Regions from separate parts of the Homo sapiens genome. Here region 2 is linked to region 1. Evidence: promoter capture Hi-C in 16 types of primary human blood cells and fetal thymus (Javierre and others, 2016). All regions are on one chromosome and are shown on one strand. The core of a region is centred on a gene start or on the middle of the fragment in contact, and the rest is flanking DNA. Distances in the headings are between cores, read along the strand shown.

Region 1 (3,800 bases), core at 1,301-3,800:
ATAGGTCCTTTTGGCTTGTGACTAATTTTGAATGGGGTAGTTCTGTCAGGGCTTCTTATTTATCACAGGAATAATATAGATGGATTTTCACTGACCTTTATTTACCTTGGCAGTGTTATAATGTATCTTTAGCACATGTGTTTTCTTGTATCCTCAGCACCTGCCTCAGAGGGTTGGCCATTGCTATAGTTTATAATCTGGTTAGACTGTAGCTTCTTCAAGTGAGACAGTTGGAAGCTTTTATTTTATATTTCTTATGGGATTTGTATAAGCACACTTTTCCACTGAGACTGATGAATTGTTTATTCTTAAGGCGTATATATAGATCTGTGGGGGGCGGGGTCCCATCCTGGGATTTGAACTATGTCTGCCCCTTTGTCACAGACAGGCAGGTTATTCTGGCCAAAAACTGGACCCTTGGAGAGTTCTGTGTTGCTTAGGTTTCGGGTTTGGTGGTCAGTGATTTATCTTAGTTTACTTTGGCCCATGGTTATACAACTAATTTTTTGGGGTTTGAAGAAAATGAAGACTCATGACAATTTAGTCAATTCTTCAATGTGGAAAGGTTTCTTGGCCAGACATGGTGGCTTACACCTGTAATCCCAGCACTTTGGGAGGCCAAGGTGGGAGGATCTCTTGAGGTTAGGAATTCAAGACAAGCCTGGGCAAAATAGCAAGACCCAATCTGCACAAAAAAATTAAAAACGTATCTGGGCGTATTGGTGCACATTTGAAGTCTTGGCTATTTGGGAAGCTGGGGAGGGAGGACTGTTTGAACCCAGGAGTTAGTGGCTGCAGTGAGCTGTGATCACACCACCACATTCTAGTCTGGGTGACAGAGCGAGATCCTGACTCAGAAAAAAAAAATTTTTTTTAATTTTTAAAAATTAAAAAAGGCAAGGCATAGTGGTTTATGCCTGTAATCCCAGCATTTTGGGAGACGAAGTTGAGAGAATTGCTTGAGTCCAGGAGTTTGAGTATGTAATCACGCCACTGCACTCCAGCCTGGGCAACATGGTGAAACTTAGTCTCTACAAAAAATACAAAAATTAGTCAGGCATGGTGGTGCATGCCTGTAGTCCCAACTACTCAGGCGGCTGAGGTGGGAGGATCACTTGAGCCTGGGAGGTCCAGGCTGCAGTGAGCTGTGATTGCACCATTGCACTCCAGCCTGGGTTACAGAATGAGACTCTGTCTCAAAAAAAAAAAAAAAAAAAAAAAAAAAAAAAAAAAAAAAGGTATCAGAATGGGCACGGTGGCTAACACCTATAATCCCAACATTTTGGGAGACCGAGGTGGAAAGATTGCTTGAGCCCAGGAATTCAAGACCATCCTGGGCAACGTAGTGAGACCTCATCTCTACAAAAAATTTAAAAATTAGCCAGGCATGGTGATACATGCCTATAGTCCTAGCTACTTGGGAGGCTGAGGCAGGAGGATTGCTTGAGCTCTGGAGGACAAGGCTGCAGTGAGCTGTGATCACACCACTGCACCACTCCAGTCTGGGTGATAGAACAAGAGCGTGTCTCAAAAAAAAAAAAAAAAAAAAAAGTGGCGGGGCACAGTGGCTCAAGTCTGTAATCCTAGCACTTTGCGGGGCCAAGGTGGGCAGATCACCTGAGGTCAGGAGTCCAAGACCAGCCTGGTCAACATGGTGAAACCCCATCTCTACTAAAAATACAAAAATTTAGCTGGGTGTGGTGGCGGGCACCTGTTGTCCCAGCTACTCGGAAGGCCGAGGCAGGAGAATTGCTTGAACCTGGGAGGCAGAGGTTGCAGTGAGCCGACATCACGCCACTGCACTCCAGCCTGGGCAACGATAGTGAAACTCCATCTCAAAAAAAAAAAAAAAGGAAAAGCTTTCTTAACATAATAGGATGTTCCTTAATTGTCCCATAGTCTACCCACCACCCCCATCCAGGTGAAATATTGATAGCAGGGCACCAGAGAACTCTTTGACTCATTCTTTTTTTTAAAGACAGAGTCTCACTCTGTCACCCAGGCTGGAGTACGGTGGCATGATCTCGGCTCGCTGCAACCTCCACCCCACGGGTTCAATTGATTCTCTTGCCTCCGCCTCCTGAGTAGCTGGGATTACAGGCGCCTGCCACCATGCCCAGCTAATTTTTGTATTTTTAGTGGAGATGGGGTTTCACCATGTTGGCCAGGCTGGTCTCGAACTCCTGACCTCAGGCAATACGCCTGCCTCAGCCTTTCAAAGTGCTGGGATTACAGGTGTGAGCCACCGTGCCTGGCCAACTCATTCTTTTTAAAAAATAAATTCATTTATTTATTTACTTGAGACGGTGTTGCTTTGTTGCCCAGGCTGGAGTGCAGTGGTGTGATTACAGCTCACTGCAGCCTCGACCTCCTGGGCTCAAGGAGCCTCCCAAGTCTTCAGCCTCCCAAGTAGCTGAGACTACAGGTGTGCACCACCATGTTTTTTTGTAGCAAAGGAGTCTCACTCTGTTGCCCAGGATGGTCTTGAATTCCTGGACTCAAGCCATCCTTCTGCCTTGTCCTCTCAAAGTGCTGGAATTACAGGCATGAGCTATCGTGCCTGGCCAGAAAATTATTTTTAAATGTTTTTATTTAAAATACCATACCCAGGCTGGAGTATGGTAACACCATCATAGCTCACTGTAACCTCGAACTCCTAGGCTCAAGCAATCCTCCTGTCTCAGCCTTCCAAGTAGCTGGGACTACAGGTGCGCACCACCATGCCCGGCTAACTTTTAAAATTTTTTGTAGAGATGAGGTCTCCCTATGTTGCCCAGACTGGTCTTGAACTCCTGGCCTCAAGCAGTCCTTCTTCCTTGGCCTCTCAAAGTGTTGGAATTACAGGCATGAGCCATCCTGCCTGGCCTTTTACTTATTCTTAAATAAACTTATTCCTTGACTAATCTTTACAGAAAGAGATGTTAACATTAAGTATGCCTCTTCACTTTGGTCTAAATTTTGTAGTATCTGGCAGCTCTTTTTTGTAGTATATTTTGAGGAAGTTGGTGTCCCTTTCCTAGATTCATGCTAGACAAATTTTTCTCTCTCTTCTTTTTTGGAGTGTGTGTATGTCTGTGTGTGTGTGTTTTATTTCATTGGGTTTCAGAGACAGAGGTTAAATAATTGTGCATTCACTGCTTCATCCTTACAAGAAAATATATGAGCTTTAAATTAGATAATGTATGTATAGCACTTAGTATAGTGCTTGGCACATAGTTAGCATTTAATAAATGGAAGCTTTATGGCCAGGCGCAGTGACTCATTATCTGTAATCCCAGCACTTTGGGAGGTTGAGGCGGGTGGATCACCTGAAGTCAGGAGTTTGAGACCAGCCTGGCCCACATGGTGAAACCTCATCTCTATTAAAAATACAAAAATTAGCTGGGCGTGGTGGTGCGCACCTTGATCCCAGCTACTCAGGAGGCTGAGGCAGGAGAATTGCTTGAACCCAGGAGGTGGAGGTTGTAGTGAGCTGAGATTGCCCCATTACACTCCAGCCTGGGCAACGAGAGTGAAACTCCGTCTTTAAAAAAAAAAAAAAATGGAAGCTTTATTTGTTTACTTGTTTATTGTCTGCTTCACCAAAATGTAAGTTCCATGAGGGCAGGGACCTTGTCTGTCTTGTTTATTGTCATATCACCAGTTTCCTTTTTTGTTTTTAATTTTTTTATTTTATTTTATTTTGCTAGAGAAGGGGTCTTGCTGTGTTGCCCAGGCTAGCCTCAAACTCCTAAGCTCAAGCTGCCTTCCTGCCTCAGCCTCCCTAAGTGCTGGGATTACAGGTGTGAGCCACCGCACCT
Region 2 (3,786 bases), core at 459-2,958, 210 kb after region 1:
TACTAAAAATACAAAAATTAGCTGGGTGTGGTGGCGGGTGCCTGTAGTTCCAGCTACTCAGGAGGCTGAGGCAGGAGAATCACTTCAACCTGGGAGGTGGAGGGTGCAGTGAGCTGAGATCAGGCCACTGCACTCCAGACTGGGCAACAGAGCGAGACTCCGTCTCAAAAAATAAAAAAGACCCTGGAGGGTGGTGTCAAAGGAAACGGAGAGGCCAGAAAGAGCAGGTGCCATGTATCCAAGGAGGACAAGGGACCCACAAGGCCTGGGGACTTGAGATATGCAGAGAGCTTGGCCAGGCCCTTCACACATCTAATTCAACTCTGTGGGACAGATATTGGCATCCCCAAAGATGAAGCCACTGCGCTATTCCTCTGGGTGCACCTTAGGTTAATGAGAATGCAGGAGAGGGCGTCTCTTTGCAGGGAAGGACATCCCTTGTGCTCGCTCTCAGGAGTGCACAAAGGTCCTCATCAGATCAGAAACCCGAGGGAGAATGGAGTGTCAGGCGCAGAAGATACCTGCCCGGGAGCCAAACTGCCCCCTCTGAGGCCAGCAAAGCAGCTGGCCACCCACCAAGCCACCAGCCCAGGAGTGTGAAGCCTTGAGAAAGGGAATGGCAGACACCACCCCTGCCAAAAGTGGGCGATAGGCGTTAAGGATGACAGACGTGTCCTCATACGAGGAAGCAATGGATTCAGCATTTGAAGTCAGGTTTATTTTTAAGTTCATGCTGCCTCCGTTAAGAAGCAAGAGACTCCGGTGGTTTCTGGTGTGTGCCCTCGGGCAAATCACTTCCTCTCTGAGGTAAGATGCAAAGGCCTGTGCTCCTAGGAGTTGGCATATCACTCCTCAGATGGGAACAGTCCTTATTTGAGGATTTTATGTGTGTGAGAGACAGGGTCTAGCTCTGTTGCCCAGGGGCTGGAGTGCAGTGGTGACATCACTGGTGGTCCAGCGCAGCCTCGACCTCCCAGTCTCAAGTGATCCTCCCGCCTGAGCCTCCTGGGCACCTGGGCCCACAGGTGCCACGATGTTTGGCTAATTTTTAAATATTTCGTAGGGACGGATCCCCATGTTGCCCAGGCTGTCTCGAAAGCCTGGGCTCAAGCCATCCTCCTCTCTCGGACTTTCCGAAAGTGTTGGGATTACAGGAGGATTACAGGCATGAACCACCGTGCCTGGCAGAGGATTTTTTTTTTTTTGAGACGGAGTTTCACTCTTGTTGCTTGTTGCCCAGGCTGAAGAGCAATGGCAATGGCGCGATCTCGGCTCACTGCAACCTCTACTTCCCAGGTTCAAGTGATTCTCCTGCCTCAGGCTCCCGAGTAGCTGGGATTACAGGCGCACGCCACCACGCCCTTTGTATTTTTGGTAGAGACGGGGTTTCTCCATGTTGGTCAGGCTGGTCTCGAACTCCTGATCCGCCCGCCTAGGACTCACAAAGTGCTGGGATTACAGGCGCGAGTCGGATTTCTTTATTAAAGGTTGACCTTCATCAACCTCCATTGGCTCCACCTCCTCCGCCCGCGCCCCGCGCCCCGCACAAAAATGGCGAAGTCGGTGCTGGGCGACTCTGCCTCCGCGCCAGGGGTGGAGAACCGAAGCCCCGCCCCGGGAAACGCGGCCCCGCGGCCGGCTAGTGCTGACGCGTGTCGGCGCTCCTGCGCCTGCGCGGAGGGAGCCGCGAGACAGGTGCGCATGCGCAGTGCGCGTCTGCGAGACCGACTTGGACGGAGCCGAGCTGAGGCTCGGCTTCCTGCTGATGGTCAGGGTTTTGGCAACTCCCCGGTGTGAGAGGGGTAGGGAGTGCTCCCGGCGGCGACGGGGCCGAGTTCACCAGCCGCCGGGGCAGTAGTCGAAGGCCCGGCGCGGCATGTCCTGGGTGCCGCGGTGCGGGCAGTGAACGCGCGCCGGGCGGGATGGGCCGGCGCCGGGCGCCAGAGCTGTACCGGGCTCCGTTCCCGTTGTACGCGCTTCAGGTCGACCCCAGCACTGGGCTGCTCATCGCTGCGGGCGGAGGAGGCGCCGCCAAGACAGGCATAAAGAATGGCGTGGTGAGAGCGCAGGGCCACTGGGGCTGGGTCTTGCTGCGGGCTGGCGGCGATTCCAGGGTGGCCGGGGGGTCGCGGGGCGGGCCACACTCCAGCTTCGGGCCCTGCCCACTTCTGTTGGGAAGACCCGCTTGCCTGACGCCCAGGGGCGAATTTCAGTCGAGAACTCAGCGGGCGGAGGAGAGGCTTTTAAGGTAAAGTGAAAACTGCACACAGCTGCAGAGTCGCCAGGAACGCTTCAGCTCCGCCTCAGAGCAGCTCCAGGGGTCTTATACTGGCCTTTTCCGGGAGGTCTTGCCTGCCCTCTAGCAGCGGCGAGAGTGGTGCATTTGGGTTTAGGCTAAGTTCCTTCCCTCTCCTGAGCTTCACCCTGTTCTGTAAAATAGAGGTAATAATCCCAGTCCTGCTCACTGTGTAGATTTGTGAGGCCCAAATGAGAGAAAAAAGACTCGAGAAACCCTTGTGAACTAGAACGTGCAGAAAGCAAAGGGGTAAGACATCAGACTCTTCCCTAAACGTGCTCTCTGGGCACCCCTGAACTTGCTCATCCGGGTTCCCCCTCCCACAGCACTTTCTGCAGCTAGAGCTGATTAATGGGCGCTTGAGTGCCTCCTTGCTGCACTCCCATGACACAGAGACACGGGCCACCATGAACTTGGCACTGGCTGGTGACATCCTTGCTGCAGGGCAGGATGCCCACTGTCAGCTCCTGCGCTTCCAGGCACATCAACAGCAGGGCAACAAGGCAGAGAAGGCCGGTGAGGAGCTCCCTCTCTACCCCCTTGGGGAAAGGGTTGAACGAGTAAGGTCACTCTTGGTGTCTCTAAAGAAGTGGGTCTGGAAGTAGGGTTTTGGTAGCAAGCTAGAAGTTGTATGGGCACCTGCCATGGAGAGAGGGGCCAGTACTCCTTACTGTAGAAGCCTGGAACCTGGCCAAGTGTTTGTGTTACAGGTTCCAAGGAGCAGGGGCCTCGACAAAGGAAGGGAGCAGCCCCAGCAGAGAAGAAATGTGGAGCGGAAACCCAGCACGAGGGGCTAGAACTCAGGGTAGAGAATTTGCAGGCGGTGCAGACAGACTTTAGCTCCGATCCACTGCAGAAAGTTGTGTGCTTCAACCACGATAATACCCTGCTTGCCACTGGAGGAACAGATGGCTACGTCCGTGTCTGGAAGGTGTGGGTTTGCAGGGTTAGGGAGGGTGAATGTCAGTAGCAACAGGATCAAAATTGTGAGAAGTTGAACGTGGCATCTGGGAAACTTGTGAATGAAGCTTGCATTGAGGGGCCATTAGAAGGGGTGGCGTGGGCATCAGTCACAGTGTACTTGCTGGACACCTGAGTTAACCATGGTGGTTGTTTGGCTACAGGTGCCCAGCCTGGAGAAGGTTCTGGAGTTCAAAGCCCACGAAGGGGAGATTGAAGACCTGGCTTTAGGGCCTGATGGCAAGGTGAGGGGCTGGGGGTGGGAGGAGGATGGAGAAAGGAGAGAGGAGGTGCTTATGCTGCTTGCCCAGTAAGTGGATCCCCTAACTGTCCATCCTTGGAATCTTTATTCCTAACTAGTTGGTAACCGTGGGCCGGGACCTTAAGGCCTCTGTGTGGCAGAAGGATCAGCTGGTGACACAGCTGCACTGGCAAGAAAATGGACCCACCTTTTCCAGCACACCTTACCGCTACCAGGCCTGCAGGTGTGAAGACTTTGGGTGGTGGCTGAAAGAGGCATAGCCCAGCTG

Evidence for each region. Contacts are between HindIII fragments. The CHiCAGO score rates a contact against its expected background, and 5 or more counts as called.
Region 2: a contact is called between the fragment with the promoter of PREB here and a fragment that was not itself captured in region 1, in 1 of 17 cell types (naive B cells). The highest score is 6.0, in naive B cells.

Annotation. Positions count from the first base shown.
Region 1 is chr2:27,343,768-27,347,567 of GRCh38, reverse strand. All of the region lies in intron 1 of GTF3C2 (general transcription factor IIIC subunit 2), which reads left to right. Among named protein-coding and RNA genes, the nearest start is that of GTF3C2-AS1, 10 kb to the right of the region's middle. The HindIII fragment of the contact is 1,378 bases long and covers 1,862-3,239 here.
Region 2 is chr2:27,132,558-27,136,343 of GRCh38, reverse strand. PREB (prolactin regulatory element binding) reads left to right here and starts at 1,708. Exons shown (of 9, transcript NM_013388.6): 1 at 1,708-2,057; 2 at 2,623-2,812; 3 at 3,007-3,227; 4 at 3,421-3,501; 5 at 3,617-3,741. The coding sequence starts at 1,923. RefSeq lists enhancers at 1,770-1,819, 1,295-1,951 and a silencer at 1,890-1,989. The HindIII fragment of the contact is 5,539 bases long and covers 1-3,326 here.